2 separate regions of the Homo sapiens genome follow, and region 1 is linked to region 2. Evidence: promoter capture Hi-C in 16 types of primary human blood cells and fetal thymus (Javierre and others, 2016). All regions are on one chromosome and are shown on one strand. Each heading gives the region's core, a stretch centred on a gene start or on the middle of the fragment in contact. The rest is flanking DNA. Distances are from core to core; before and after follow the strand shown. Region 1 overlaps PCMT1 (protein-L-isoaspartate (D-aspartate) O-methyltransferase). Region 2 holds the start of CAHM (colon adenocarcinoma hypermethylated).

Evidence for each region. The method cuts DNA at HindIII sites, captures the fragments that hold promoters and counts their contacts. A CHiCAGO score of 5 or more calls a contact.
Region 1: a contact is called between a fragment that was not itself captured here and the fragment with the promoter of CAHM in region 2, in 1 of 17 cell types (fetal thymus). The highest score is 6.1, in fetal thymus.

The regions. Positions count from the first base shown.
Region 1 is chr6:149,750,585-149,758,441 of GRCh38, forward strand. The region is part of intron 1 of PCMT1 (protein-L-isoaspartate (D-aspartate) O-methyltransferase); the gene reads left to right. Among named protein-coding and RNA genes, the nearest start is that of PCMT1, 4.8 kb to the left of the region's middle. RefSeq lists enhancers at 88-590, 591-1,093. The HindIII fragment of the contact is 3,257 bases long and covers 1-3,089 here.
Region 2 is chr6:163,410,334-163,417,847 of GRCh38, forward strand. CAHM (colon adenocarcinoma hypermethylated) reads right to left here and starts at 3,617. Exons shown (of 1, transcript NR_037593.1): 1 at 2,732-3,617. QKI (QKI, KH domain containing RNA binding) reads left to right here and starts at 4,385. Exons shown (of 8, transcript NM_006775.3): 1 at 4,385-5,002. The coding sequence starts at 4,861. LOC124901234 (basic proline-rich protein-like) reads left to right here and starts at 1,248. Exons shown (of 4, transcript XM_047419614.1): 1 at 1,248-1,376; 2 at 2,281-3,752; 3 at 3,916-4,335; 4 at 4,632-4,843. The coding sequence starts at 2,873. The coding sequence ends at 4,843. RefSeq lists silencers at 3,024-3,803, 3,894-4,713, 4,964-5,013, 5,214-5,403 and enhancers at 3,637-4,289, 4,290-4,943. The HindIII fragment of the contact is 4,236 bases long and covers 2,000-6,235 here.

The DNA of each region.
Region 1 (7,857 bases), core at 211-2,710, about 14 Mb before region 2:
GAACAGGGGATGCTGTTCCTGAGAGACTTGTATTTCAGGAGCCTTTGCAGGTCCTGGATCAGCAGAGGGTTGTGTGTCTGATGTTCTAACTTTTTTCAGGGCTACCATAGGCTTTAAAAACCTTATGTGGAGTTTCTTTATATCACTCTCCTTAGTTACTGTATTCCTTCTTCTGATGATAATTTTAGGATAGGATGAGTGCTGTGTCACTTTCTTTTTTTAAATCGAAATATAGCGTCCCCGTTTTGTTGGGAGACTACAAGGGCCGCAGTCTATAATAAACTCACTGGTCAGAATTTATAGCATTATTCGCTACTATGCAGTAATCATATCTTGTCACATGGTATTTTTAATTGTCCTGTGTTACTTAGCTTTTCATGTGTTTGTCTTATTTCTCAACTCGATTTGTAATTTCCTTAACGGCTGGCACCATTAAAAAAAATTTTTTTTGGCCGGGCTCATTGGCTCACGCCTGTAATGCCAGCACTTTGGGAGGCCGAGGCGGGTGGATTACCTGAGTTCAGGAGTTCGAGACCAGCCAGGCCGACATGGTGAAACCCCATCTCTACTAAAAATACAAAAATTAGCCGGGCGTGGTGGTGCCTGCCTGTAATCCCAGCTACTTGTGAGGCTGAGGCAGGAGAATCGCGTGAACCCGGGACGGGGAGGTTGCAGTGAGCCAAGATCTTGCCACTGCACTCCAGCCTGGGCAACAAGGGAGGAAACTCCGCCTCAAAAAAAAAATTTTTTTTTGAATTTTCTCTAAGAATTTAACAGTCATCCCTTTTTTTCATAAATGCCCATTAAATGTCCGTTATATGCCTAAATCTGTGCTAGACAGACAAAGGTAATTGAGAGAAATTAGGAGTACTGTTTGGCACATGGTTGGTACTTTTTTTTTTTTTTTTTTTTTTTGAGACAGAGACTCCCTCTGTAGCCCAGACTGGAGTGCAATGGCGCGGTCTTAGCTCACTGCAACCTCCGCCTCCCAGGTTCAAACAATTGTCCTGTCTCAGCCTCCTGAGTGGCTGGGACTACAGGCGCCTGCCAGCACGCCTGGCTAATTTTTGTATTTTTAGTAGAGAAGGGGTTTCACTATGTTGGCCAGGCTGATGTCGAACTCCTGACTTCATGATCTGCCCACCTCGGCCTCCCAAAGTGCTGGGATTATAGGCGTGAGCCACCGCGCCAGGCCGGTACTTGATATATTAGTCATTTTGGATTTTTTTTTGGTGGGGGGACAATACTTAATGTGGAAACTGAGTCTTTAGTGTTTGGTAAGAGAGAATGTTGATTATTTTTTTTTTTTAGACAGGGTTTCACTGTCACCCAGGTTGGAGTGCAGTGGTGTGAGCTCGGCTCACTGCAACCCCTGCTTTCTGTGCTCAAGCGATTTTCCCACTTCAGCCTCCTGAGTACAGTGGTGCCACCATACCAGGCTAATTTTTAGGGTTTTTTTTTTTTTTTTGGTAGTTTATGAGATGGGGTCTTGCTATGTTGCCCAGGCTGGTCTTGAACTCCTGGACTCAAGCAATTTGTTGGACTCAGGCTCCCAAAATTTTGGGATTACAAGAGTGAGCCACCGCACCTGGCCATGGTGAATGTTTAGATGTCAACATTTTTTTTTTTTGAGACAGAGTTTTGCTCTTGTTTCCCAAGCTGGAGTGCAATGGCGTGATCTTGGCTCACTGCAACCTCTGCCTCCTGGGTTCAAGCGATTCTTCTGCCTCAGCCTCCCGAGTAGCTGGGATTACAGGCACCCACTACCACGCCTGGCTAATTTTTAGTATTTTTAGTAGAAACGGGGTTTCACTATGTTGGCCAGGCTGGTCTCAAACTCTTGACCTAAGGTGATCTGCCTGCCTCGGCCTCCCAAAGTGCTTGAATTACAGGTGTGAGCCACCACGCCCAGCCTAGATGTCAATATTTTGTCAAGCATTGTCAGGTTCATTTTATGGAATGATGCTTGATTGGAAATGGACATTTATGTGCTACAACAGTAGTATGAAGTATGATTTGGGTTCTCATGGATGGCACATAAGCTCAATATGTTGTAAATATTTTTTACGAAATCCCTTAACATGATCTCAGTGCCTTCTATTGCAGTATATGTACCTGAAACATTTTGTACACAAATTGTGATTAAGTAATTTTCCACCGGTAGGTTATCATAGTAGGCACTTGGCTGTGGCAGAAATTTGTAATCAATCAGGCTCTTAAAGTCTCTCCTTTTTTGGGCCAAATTTGTGGTAAGCCAAGACTAGATAGATCTTTTCCCGGTGGTTTCATAATCACTTTAATGTATTGCATTACTGTTCTTAGCTGAAATTTCTAAGGATGTTTTTCTGTCAGGAAATTTAATAAGGAATATTTAATATACATAGATGTTGATTTTGCAAATAGTTTTATACTAGATTTATGATTGGTAAGAGGAAATTAGAGTAGAATAGTTGTTTAGCCTCTTTTGTAACACTTGTGCAACTTTAGTTTCAACTTCTTGCTGAGGTAATTCTAGCTAATAGATTTCTTTTTATTAGCTTATTATAAAAGTAATACTTGCTCATGTGAAAATTGTAATTGACATAAAATTTGAAAATATTGCCTTCCTTCCTCATTATTCTACTGTGTATATTCTTCCTAAATTAAAGGCTTTTAATTGAAATCTTAGAAAAATATAAAAATGTGATTGTGTTGATGTTGAAATGAAAAGGGGCCTGCTTACTAGAAGGGGAAGGAAATTACATTTTTAATGGTTTTTTTTTTTTGAGACAGAGTTTCGCTCTTATTGCCCAGGCTGGAGTGCAATGGCACGATCTCAGCTCACCACAACCTCTGCTTCCCAGGTTCAAGCAATTCTCTGGCCTCAGCCTCCCGAGTAGCTGGGATTACAGGCAGGCGCCACCACACCCAGCTAATTTTGTATTTTTAGTAGAGACAAGGTTTCTCCATGTTGGTCAGCTGGTCTTGAATTCCCAACCTCAGGTGATCTGCCTGCCTCAGCCTCCCAAAGTGCTGGGATTACAGGCATGATCCACCACACCTGGCCAATAGTTTTTTTTGTTTTGTTTTGTTTTGTTTTTAAGAAATGAAGCTTAATATAATTTGTTAAGAATATTTTGTTTTCCTTTTGTATTAAAATCTATCATAATAGGACTGTGGTTGTATGATTTCATAGTTGATGCATCATTTATAGAATATTTCAGATTGTAATGGTAGATTTCTTATGTCATGGCTTATATTATAACCACTCTTAAGTAACTTAGAACAGTGACTAAAACTTGAGCATGCTTCAAAATCTCCTGAATCACCTGGAGAGCTTTTCAAAATACAGATTGCCGGAGCTTGAGAATTTGTATTTCTAACAGATTTGTAAGTGGTGCCACTGCTGGTCCAGGGACCACATTTTGAGAACCAGTGACATGGAGAATTGAAAATTATAAGGTTGAATTCTGCCAGCATATCAGCTAAATCAGTTTTATGCTTTAGAATAATGTTTTAGAAAAAGTCTATAGCAGTCTTGCCCTATAGAGTGCTTGGTGATGTTCTCTATATTGTCCAGTGTGGTAGCTACTAGCTACATGTGGCATTTAACATTTGAAATGTGGACAACTGAAGAACCGAAATTCAATTTTTTAAAAAATTAACTTAATGAAATAACCACATGTATCCAGTAGTTACCATATTGGACAGCACAGGTCTCTAGAAATGAAAAAATACAATTATTTTATGATTATGGACTGGTAATGTGCTCGTGAAACAAATTAGCTTAATTTGAAACCGTGAGCCTGCTTAATCCAGGGAATGTGACTATTTAAATAATGTTTATATTAGAGTTTACTTCCTACTCGTATTGAGATAATTTCAAGCCATGGTAAAATTTAGGAAGATAGCCAGAGTAGGTGAGGTGATGTTCTGGAGCAGGGGTATTTAAACCAGAGGGTTTGTGGGATGTTAACTTAATGGATAGGCTTCAAATGCTATAGAGTAGTCCCTCCCTTATCCCATGGTTTTGCTTTCTGAAGTTTCAGTTACCCCAAGTCAACTGAGGTCTGAAAATATTAAATGGGAAATTCCTGAAACAAGCAATTCATAAGTTTTAAATTGTGTGCTGTTTTGAGTAGCGTGAGGAACTCTCTGGACGTCCCACTTGATCCTGCCCGTGACATGAATCATCCCTTTGTTCAGCATATCTATGCTGTCTACACCTGCCCGTTTGTCACTTAGTAGCCTATTTGGTTAGCAGTGACTGTCATAGTATCACAGGGCTTGTGTCCAAATAATCCTTATTTTACTTAATAATGGACCCAAAGTGCAAGAATAATGGTGCTGGCATGTAATGATACTTGTTCTATTTTATTCATTATTTTTGTTAATTTCTTAATTGTGCCTAATTTATAAACTAAACTTTATTATAGGTATGTTACGTATAGGAAGAAAACAACATACAGATGGTCCCTGACTTAACAGTGGTTTGACTTACAAGTTTTTTACTTTACTGGATGTAAACCTGTCATAATAAACCTGTTATAAGTTAAGGAAGGCCGAGTGCGGTGGCTCACACCTGTAATCTCAGAACTTTGGGAGGCTGAGTCAGGAGGATCGCTTCAGTCCAGGAGTTTGAGACCAGCCTAGGCAACATAGTGAAAATAACATTTGTCATTTTCTCTACAAAAAATAAACAAAATTAGCTGGGCATTATGGTGCATGCCTGTAGTCTCAGCTACATGAGCTACGTGGGAGGCTGAGATGGGAGGATCACTTGAGCCCGAGAGGTTGAGGGTGCAGTAAGCCAAGATCATGCCACTGCACTCGAGCCTGGGTGATGGAGCAATACTTTGTCTCAAAAAAAAAAAAATGTTGAGTATCTGTATGGGCTGTATGGGCTTTGGTATTGTATGCGGTTTCAGGCATCTATTAAGGGTCTTGGACCGTATTTCCTGTGGGTAAAGGGAAACTACTGTACTGACCACTGAAAGCAATTGTTCTTTTATCTATTTTTATTTGTAAAAATAATTCAGTCCATTCCCCTAATGATCAATTGTTTCTACTTATGTTTCTTTTGCATTCTTGATTTTGTCATTTTACATATATAATGTTTATGGAATTTGTCATTTAGTCAGCTGATATTTTAGTGCTTTCTATATGACAGGCACTGGGGATACAGCAGTGAACAAAACAAACATCCACTCCCTCTTGTAGCTTCTAATGGGAGCAGCCAAGTATAGTATGTCACATGATAAGTGACAAAGTAGGGAGGGAGGACAGAGTGTGTGGGGCAGTAGGTTTATAGTTGTAGAGAAGGCCTCAGTAAGGTATCATTAGACCAAAGATTTGCTGGAGGAGTAGACACATATCACGCAGGTAGACTTGGGATAAGCATTCCAGGCAGAAGAAATAGCGAATTCCAGATTTGGATTTAGGATCTGGGAGAAAAGATTGGAGGCAAGGATCCAACACCAAGGTTTTAGGCCTTGGCAACTGGAATGATTTGCCATTTTCTAAATTGGAAATGGTGAGTGAGTGAGCAGCCACGTTTATTCTGTGAGGAGGGGACTGTGGGAGATCAGATTATTTTGAGGAATGCTTTTCTTATAAGACATTTAAGTCGAGATTTTTAGTAGGCATTTGAATATGCAAGAATTATGATTTGTAGTTTTTATATCCTAAAAGCATTTACTTTTGTAAATAATGAAATTATTTTCTATCTACAGCACCAGTTCTTAGCCACTAGTAGGTGTTGCTAGTAGAAAAGAGCATTTATTCTTTCCCTTTTTTTTTTTTTGAGACAGAGCCTCTTTCTGTCGCCCAAGCTGGAGTGCCGTGGCGTGATCTTAGCTCACTGCAACCTCTGTTTCCTGGGTTCAAGCGACTCCTCCATCTCAGCCTCCCGAGTAACTGGGACTACAGATGCACACCACCATGACTGGCTTTTTTTTTTTTTTTTTTTTTTTTTTTTTTTTGGTAGAGACGGGGTTTTGTCATGTTGCCCAGGCAGGTCTCAAACCCCTGGGCTCAAGTGATCCACCCGCCTCAGTCTCCAATATTGCTGGGATTATAGGCATGAGCCCCTGCGCCCAGCCAGCATTTACTCTTAATATTCCACTACTTTTGTATGCACATGGGAAAAATAGAACCAGCTGGTAAAATCCTAAGAAATTGGAGCCTCAAAGTCCAGAGGCCTTCTCATTTTGACTTATTTCAAACCAGTCTTATGGATAGGTACTAGTAAGTAAACTTGAAATCCTATGTATATATTTAAATTTAAATTATATAAAAATAAATAAAATTGGCCGGGCGTGGTGGGTCATGCCTGTAATCCTAGCACTTTGGGAGGCCGAGGTGGGTGGATCACCTGAGGTCAGGGGTACCAGACCAGCCTGGCCAACAATGCGAAAACCCGTCTCTACTAAAAATACAAAAATTAGCTGGGCATGGTGACAGGAGCCTATAATCCCAGCTACTCGGAGGCTGAAGCAGGAGAATCGCTTGAACCCGGGGAGTGGAGTTTGCAGTGACCTGAGATCGCTCCATTGTACCCCAGCCTGGGTGAAAAAGCGAAACTGCCTCAAAATAAATACATAAATAAATAAAATTAAAAATTTATATCTTTAGTCATATTAGCCACATTTCAAGAGCTCAGTAGCCACATGGAGCTAGTGCCCACCCTGTTGGACAGTGCAGATAGAGAATAGATCTGCCATCACTGAAGGTTCTTTTGGATTGCAGTAGATCTTGATGCTTGGCTGTATTACATTCTGGTTAATGAGATCTTAGGCTGTAGGAGGGGAAAGATTCGATTGTGCTGTTACAAAAATATTTTTATTAATATTATATTTAGCTTTGGTTAAATGCTTTCAGGGTGGCAGTGTAAAACTAAAGATTATTGGATAAGAGTGATGAAGATAACAAGAGGATCAGCATCTTACATGGTGCTTTGAAGGGATGGAGGTGGTTTGGTTTAGCAAAACCTTTAGGGAGCAGTGGTGTTTAAATTTGAAGAAATGTCATGTAGTAGAGGGTCAAACCAGGACAAATGGGAGGCAGATTTTGGCTCATTATAAGTAAGTATTCACAAAGCTATCCTAACAATCAAAAAGTTGGCTTTGAAAAAGTGTTTTCTGTCACCAAATATGTTGAAGCAAAGAATGGTTGACCATTTCACTGTAAGGGATATTGTAGAAGGGATTTTGTCATCAGATTTGAATGTACACTAGATCTCTAAGGACCCTTCCAAATCCAAGATTCTGTGATTTTTTTCCCCAGTGGTCCCTTGTACCTAGATTTTATGATTTAAAAAATATTTTATTTTATTTTTTGAGACAGAGTCTCACTCTGTTGCCTAAGCTGGAATGCAGTGGTGTGATCTTGGCTCACTGCAACCTCTGCCTCTCCGGTTTAAGTGATTCTCGTGTCTTAGCCTCCCGAGTAGCTGGGACTTACAGGCACGTGCCACCATACCCAGCTAATTTTTGTACTTTTAGTAGAGATGGGGTTTCACCATGTTGGCCAGGATGGCCTCAAACTCCTGACCTCAAGTGATCCACCCGACTTGGCCTCCCAAAGTGCTAGGATTACAGGAGTGAGCCACTGCGCCCAACCAATTTTTTTTTTCTTTCTTTCTTTCTTTTTTTTTTTTTTTTTTCTGAGACAGAGTCTTGCTCTGTCGTCCAGGCTGGAGTGCAGTGGCGCAACCTCAGCTCACTGCAACCTCCGCCTCCCCGGTTCAAGCAATTCTCCTGCCTCAGCCTCCTGAGTAGCTAGGATTACAGGCATATGCTACCACGCCTGGCTAATTTTTGTATTTTTTAGTAGAGGCGAGGTTTCACCATGTTGGCCAGGCTGGTCTCAAACTCCTGA
Region 2 (7,514 bases), core at 2,367-4,866:
AATAAACAATTATTTTGCGAAGATACCAAGAATGCCCCAATTCCTTTTAGGAAAATCTAAAGACTAAGATTTTTAAAAAGAACACTGGGACAAAAAGCCATAAAACCCTAAATCTTATATCCAAGGAACATTATAGTTCTTTCGAGAACTCTATGGTGATAAAGAAAGGTTTGGAATACTGCAAATTTCTATTTTAAATGTTAAGAATAGCAATAAGCAAATAGAGCCAATCAAATTTAACAGAATAGAAAATATGTTTCCACGCCTGGTTAATTACTGATGTTAGAATGTGGAACCATTTTTAGTGTCAACATATTAGATGACAATTTTTCACAGTGAAAAAACCTATTATAGGGATCTTCAACTGGAGGCTCATTCTGTATATATACTCACTACATGTTGTAATTTATTTTCAATACTGTATTAAGATAACATTTTTGTAATAATGTAATTATTACAAAGTTAGTCTTTCTACATTTTTTTTTTTGAGACGGGATCTTGCTCTGTTGCCCAGGCTGGAGTGCAATGGTGTGATCACAGCTCACTGCAACCTCTGCCTCCCTGATCCTCCCACCTCAATCTCCCAAGTAGCTGGGTCTACAGGTATGTGACACCAGACTCTGTTAATTTTTGTATTTTCTAGAGAGATAGGGTCTCACTATGTTGCCTAGACTGGTTTCAAAATCCCGGGCTCAAGTGATCCACCTGTCTTGGCCTCCCAAAATGCTGGGATTACTGGCACAAACACCGCACCCGACCCTCTGCAGCTACTTACTCCTCCTAAGCATCAGCCCTCTCATCTCTGAAATATGGCTCTTCCTGCCTACCTCAAATATTGGCTGTAAGGATGAAAATAAACAATGAAGATAAGGGTTTTGCAGAGCTTCTGGTCCATAACAAGTACTTAATACTTCTTTTGGACATATATTTAATAAGTGCCTACGTGTACCATATGCTGATCTAGGTGTTGGAAATTCCTAATAGAAGAAACTCCTTTTTCTCATGGAGCTTACAATGTTGATGCCAGTGGCAAACGAGTTGACCCATTGTTACGTGGAAACAAATGGTATGAAAAGAACCTGGGGTAAGCAGATGGAAGAAGGGAGGAAGTGTTTGCGTGCACAAAGGCGCCATTTTACATAGGGTGTTAAGGGACACCTTCTAAAGATAAATAGGGGCAGGGGTCGCCGATGTATGGGGAAAAGCTTTCCGAGGAGAGCAAACACCAAGGGCAGAGTCCTGGGGAGGGTAAGCATGCTTGGAATATTTAAGGATCCAGACGGATTCCACGGGGGTGCAGCCAAGTGGGCTGTGGGAGGAGAAGGACATAAGGTCAGTGATGCACCAGGGGCACACCTGTCGTCTTGCAGGACTTGGTAAGCTCTTCGGATTTTTTCTTTCTTTCCTTTTTTTTTTTTTTTTTTTTGAGATAAGAAACCATTGAGGGACTGTCAGGAAATGAGGTGATCTACATAGATTTGAAAAGGTAACCTGCCAGGCACGTGGCTCACGCCTGTAATCCCAGCACTTTGGGAGGTTGAGGGGGGCGGATCACCTGAGGTCGGGAGTTCGAGACCAGCCTGACCAACATGGAGAAACCCCCGTCTCTACTAAAAATACAAAATTAGCTAGGCGTGGTGGCGCATGCCTGTAATCCCAGCTGCTCGGGAGGCTGGGGCAGGAGAATCACTTGAACCGGGGAGGCAGAGGTTGCAGTGAGCCGAGATCGCGCCATTGCACTCCAGCCTGGGTGACAAGAGCGAAATTCTGTTTCAAAAAAAAGAAAATTAACACACAGTAGCTATTATCAAATGCTGTAACCGTAAGTGATTTAATACATAGGAAATGAAAATTGCCTATCATTGTTCTTTAATCTGGTTTAAGTGGTTGAGCCTTATGACACTGCCATTTCTATGGGTCAAAAATGGTGGAATATTGTCATAAAATTCAACCTGATTTAAAGGATAGGGCAAGGAAAAAAAGCAAAAAAAAAAAAAAAAGCTTTAGAATAAAATATAATTGGATTATAATCCCAGACACAGGACTCACTAGCTATATTCTTGGGCAAGTTACTTAACTTCATCTTTCTTGGGTTTCCCCTTATTTGTAAAATGGGGATAACAGTCTAACCTAAGCCCAAGTTGTACTGATGATTAAACGAGATATGCATGTAGGGCATTCAGCATAGTGCCTAGGAGCTTAATAAATAAGCAGGCCATTAAGAAGGGGATTGCATCTTTTACACTAGCAGCATCAAAACCTTGATTTTGATTTTTCTAGGTACTGAAACAGCCTTCATTACTTAGAGACCATAGCTTTTTTGCAAGTTACTATTCCCTGCATTTAGAAAGTTCATCTTTAAACAGGCAATTCAGTAAGTAAATATTCTATGGCTCTAAAACAGATACGGCTGTTGGAGACTTTAAAACATCTGACAGTTACATTTTTAATGTTGTCTACCAAGGCTATTACATTTCCTCTGTCAAAGTAACTTAATTTTAAAAACGAACTCTGTGCTTGTTAAACGAAAAGGCCAGAAGGCTACTGGCTACTCAGCGTTCATTTGAAATTCTTATAGTGCCTTCAGTACAATTCAAACTTAGAGGTGATTCTCACAATTCATGTGAAGCAACATTTTACAAAAAAAATCACCTACGTTCACTGTTAAGTCAGAAGACAGAATGATTAACAAAATCTCAGCCGCGAATTACTCTCACGATGGCCAACTGGATATTAAATAACTCTGCATTATTTTAATGGAATGTTATAAAGGATTTGCAACAAAATGCAGACGTAGATTTAGGGACTGCCGACTTCTATAGATCAAGGACTTCATTGGTGCAGCTGAGGAAATTCTTCCAAACAAGTCTAAATGTTGGAAATCCACCAAACTGCAGAGAAAGACCTCTTGCCTCCGTATTCTTTCTTCATCTGTAAAAATGTTGACTTCTGCTTTTCAGACTACGCGCACAGCCTCTTTATTTCCTACTGCGGCTTCATTCCCTCACGGAACACTGACGCCATCGCGAAGGAAGCATTTCGAGCACGACTGACGCTCCCCTTATTATTTGCTAAGCCGCTGCGCTCGGGTCTGGCTACGATTTGCTTTCAGAATAACGGGAAGGTGCAACAAGATCGCTTCCCTAGAGGCGCGTCGCCCGCGTGGCCCGGACCCCCCACGCCCGCCCGCCGCCCCGTGGGTGCGCACGCGTGTCCGCGCAGGCTTCCCGCCTGGCGAGTGCAAGGCTCCTCTCCGCCGTGCTGCTTTCCAGCCTCTCAGCAAATCACGAACACCGAAAGAAGCCACGGCGGCGACGGGAGGGGCGTCGCGCGTGCTTCCCTCGGCGACAAAGCGGGAGCCGGGCGCGCCGGCCGAGGGCGCCCGGCGCAGAGTCCCGCAGAGGCGGACGCCGCGGCACGCGCCTCGAAAAGCCTCAAACTCTTATCCTCGGCTCTCCCGCCCCACCTCCGCCCCGCAGCCAAGACCCGCGCCGTGGCGGGCCCGACGGCCAAGGAAAGCCCACCAGCCCTCCGCACCGTGGGCGACGGGCCAAGACCCGGCCCTAAACGGCCAGACCCAGCCCCTAGTCGGCTGCCGCCCCCGCCCCACGCAGGCGCGCTCCGGGGCCCTCCCCTCCCCCACCGCGCGCTCGCGGGGCCCGACGGGGGCGGAGCGACCCTCGGAAGGGGCGTGGCGACCGGGCTCGACGCGCGCACGCGCTCTGGAGCCCCACGGCTACGTGTCGGGCCACGTGATGCCCACCCCGAAAGTCCCCCGTGAAGCAACAGGACGTTAAAAAAAAATTTCTCTTCTGCGGGGTGGATAAGAGGTTCTGAAAAAACTATAGTAACGGGAGGCGAGGCGGAGGCAGCGCTGGCGCGTCCCGCTGGAATTCCTCTCGCCTGCCGCGCCAGCCCCGACCGCGCCCGCAGCCCCACCCGCCCCGTGCCGTGGAAAGCCCCGCGCCCCCCCCGCGGCCGTCGGCCCCGCAGCCCACACCCACCCGCCCCGGGCGCCCCGCACGGCGGCGACCCAGTCCTTGCGCCCAGGCCCGCCGAGCGCCGCAGTCCGTCACACTCCCGTTGCCCCCGTCGCCCGCCCCGCCGGGGAGGCAGGGAGGAGGGGGCGCGGCGCCGGCGGCTGCCCCGGTCGCGGGGCGGCGGGCAGCAGGCAGCGGGAGCGCGCCGGCCGGGACCCGCTAACGGCCGCCCTGCGCGGCCCCGCCCGCCGCCCGCCCCCGGCCCTCCCCGCGCCGCTGCCCCTCCCCCCGCCGCCGCCGCTGCTGCCGCCGCCGCTGGCAGCGCCGCCTGAACTGAGGCGAACTCCGCCGCCAAGTGAGTGAGGAGGAGGAGGAGGAGAAGGAGGAGGAGGAAGAGGAGGAGCGCAGTCGGAGCGCGGCGGCAGCGGCAGAGGCGCCGCGGCGGGGACCAGCCCAGAGAGACCCCCCGAGCCCGCGGCACAGGCGGCGGCGGCGCTGAGCGGGCTCGACCAGCCGAGCGAGCGGCGGCCCCGGCTCCTCCTCGTCCGGCGCCAGCAGCCCGCGCCCCGCGCCCGCACTCGGCCAGCCGAGACCCGCCTCCCGCCCGCCCGCCGGCCTCGTGAGGGACGCGCCGAGCCGGGCGGCCGAGAGCGGCGGCGGCTGGGAGCGCGTCGGGCCCGGGCGGAAAGTGCCTGCGGGGGGCGGGCGAGCGCGCGGTGCCGGCCGCCCCGGGGCTCGGCGCGGGAGCCAGAGCGGGAGCCGGCGCGGAGCGGGACGCCGGGTCCCGAGCGGCCCGCGGCCGGGGCTCGCCCCCGCCCCTCCCTCCTCTCCGGCGGCGGCGGCGGCGGCGGCGGGCGGAGTGAGCTGCGGAGCCTGGAATATGGTCGGGGAAATGGAAACGAAGGAGAAGCCGAAGCCCACCCCAGATTACCTGATGCAGCTGATGAACGACAAGAAGCTCATGAGCAGCCTGCCCAACTTCTGCGGGATCTTCAACCACCTCGAGCGGCTGCTGGACGAAGGTGAGCGTCTCCAGGGCCCCGGCCCCGGCCCGACCCCCGCCGGGGCGGCCCCTTTCCCCGCTTGGGATGGTGGGGAGGGCGGGAAGGTCACGGCCGGGCGGGACCGAGCGCCGGGGGGACTGGGAGGCCAGGAGGGCGCACAAAGGAGGTGCCGGGCCGGGCTTGCGGCGGGCGGGCGGGCCGGGGTGGACCCGCCGGTGCCGGACGCCCCCTGCCCGGCCGGGACCCCGCGCCGCTGGCGTCCAAGTTGGCGCGTTGCGGAGGGCTGCGGGGTGAGCCCTGCGGCCCCTCTAGCTTCGGCGGTCACATTTCCGAGAGGTCGGCGGGGGCTGCGCGGACTCGGTGGTCCTCGCCGAGCCCTCCCGAGAGCAGGCCCACGCCGCGCCGCCGGCCTGGAGGACGCGTGTGCCCGGCGCGGGCCCCGCTCCTCCGCTCGGCCTCCCGAGCCTGCTCTGCGCGGACCCCCACCGCCCCGCGTTCGGGAGCTCTCCCCTCCCGTGAGGACTAAAGCGGGGTTTCGTGGTTGGGGAGTTGGTGCAGCTGTTCAATACTAAGTGGAAGTCAGTGTGGGGCTCGTTAGTTTAAAGAAATTCCGTAGGAGACCGAAATTATGCTGGCGTAGCCGACAAGGAGGACTAAGTGACGGCGAAAAGCACTTTTTTCCCTTTTGTTTGGGGAAGCGAGAACTGTTAGGGAGTTGAACTTCACTTTTCGGGGGTGGGGGGGGGGGGGGTGGAGTGCGAAATAACGCGATGACAGATCGGAGCGCAGCCTGAGTTAGAAGAACTTGGGCGGAGGGTTTGCTCCCGGGGACGCAGCCGCCTGAGTTTGTAGGACAGGGTTTCGAGACGTTTGGAAAGGGCGAAATAAAATTGAGCCAAAGTTTCCAAAAAGCTGTATGGAGCGCTGTGGGGAGTGAAGAATGACAAGAAGATTAATGTTGACCAACTTTGGAATTTCCTTAAGAAGTTCTCATAGCAGTACCTGAAGTATTAATTTCTAGTAGCTGTGGGTTTCTGTGGACGCCTAGAGAAAAAAAAGACCACAAAAAAAGTCTGTTTCGAAAATCGACTGGCCAGGAGTTTGTTTGTTTTTTTTTCCTGCTTAGAGGCACCACCGGAGGACTGTGTAAAGGAAACTGAAAACTACAGGTTGAAGAGATGAACAATGGAGTTTAGATTTTTCGCAAGAATTTCGAGATTTTAAAAATAGAGTCGGGGAACAGGAGTTTGAAGCTTGGGGAGTTGGAATGTCACTAGAGAACAAAAGGCCGGAAATGTTTCCATGATAAAAAATGGTTAAAGAAAAATCCCAGGAGTTCTGTTGTCTTGAAAGTCATAGAAACAACTTAAAAGTAGAAAATGGTTAGGTGTTACGGCTTTCTCGTCGTTTTGCTTCCGTATGTTAAACATACAGCACTCACCAACGTTGAAATGGGCATTTTCCGCTGTTGGAACAGCAAATCTGTTAATTTCAAGTTGCTCCAGAGAAAACCTGAGCTGTCCCTTTAAGGGGTTCTGCTTTTCCTATTTGTGTTGGCATTTGAAAGATTGTGGAGGCAGAAAACTTTCTGGAATGTCAAAAAAAAAAAAAAAATGCTGGAACTCTTAAATTGAGTATTTCCAAATGTGAGCGCTAAGGGGCGCCAGTTATTTTTTAACCATGGAAATGGTTGGAACAAAATGTGTAACATACTCAATCTGACTGACCTATATTAAATTTAGTTGAAACTTAAGTTATAGATTATTTGATTTGTCATAATGTGTTTATATAGTGTTTTCGAACATTGAAAATACTTTCCTTAAAATTATTGGCACAACTTTATGACGTTTCAAAATAACACTCTTACTGTCTTCTCCTTGGCATATTTTGGTTAAGTTAAAGTTTTAGTAGTATTAGTAACAATTTCTGGTGAAAGTTTGTTTTCTTGAGTGCAGTTGTTTAGAAGGAATCCTTTATCGACGATAAAATGAAAATAGGCCTTGGCAATATTTAGGGTTAATTAAAATTAAATTGCATTCCTGAAATGTCGAATTCAAAGACTATAGGAGATTCCAAAAAAAAGTTTGAAAATACTTTCACCTTATGTATACTATTTAAAAAGCTGCATACTTTTGCGTTCTTTAGTTTTAAAAGGCTTCTTGTGCTTTTATGTTGATCTAAAATCTCTAAATTTAGAGCTGATTCCTTGTTATCAAGTTTCCAACCTTAGGCTTTAATAATTTTTAATCTTTCAAATCCAGAAATTTCAATTATGTCATTGTCTCTGACAAAGGCTTATTTCTCTCTGGTTGGAAATAGTACTCGTTTGCGTTTTAAATGTAAGAGACCACTATGATATCTCCTAGATAATGTTTGTTTCCCCTTCCCCTTTTAATGTGGTTTACTCCATCTCTTGTCTTGCTATCTTTAGTTTTAGCCTTGTCAATTCCCCAGTGTAAAGATTGCTTCTGTGTGGCATATAGTATGTTTAAAATGGGCAATATAATGACGAGGAAGTTTGATTGTTTTT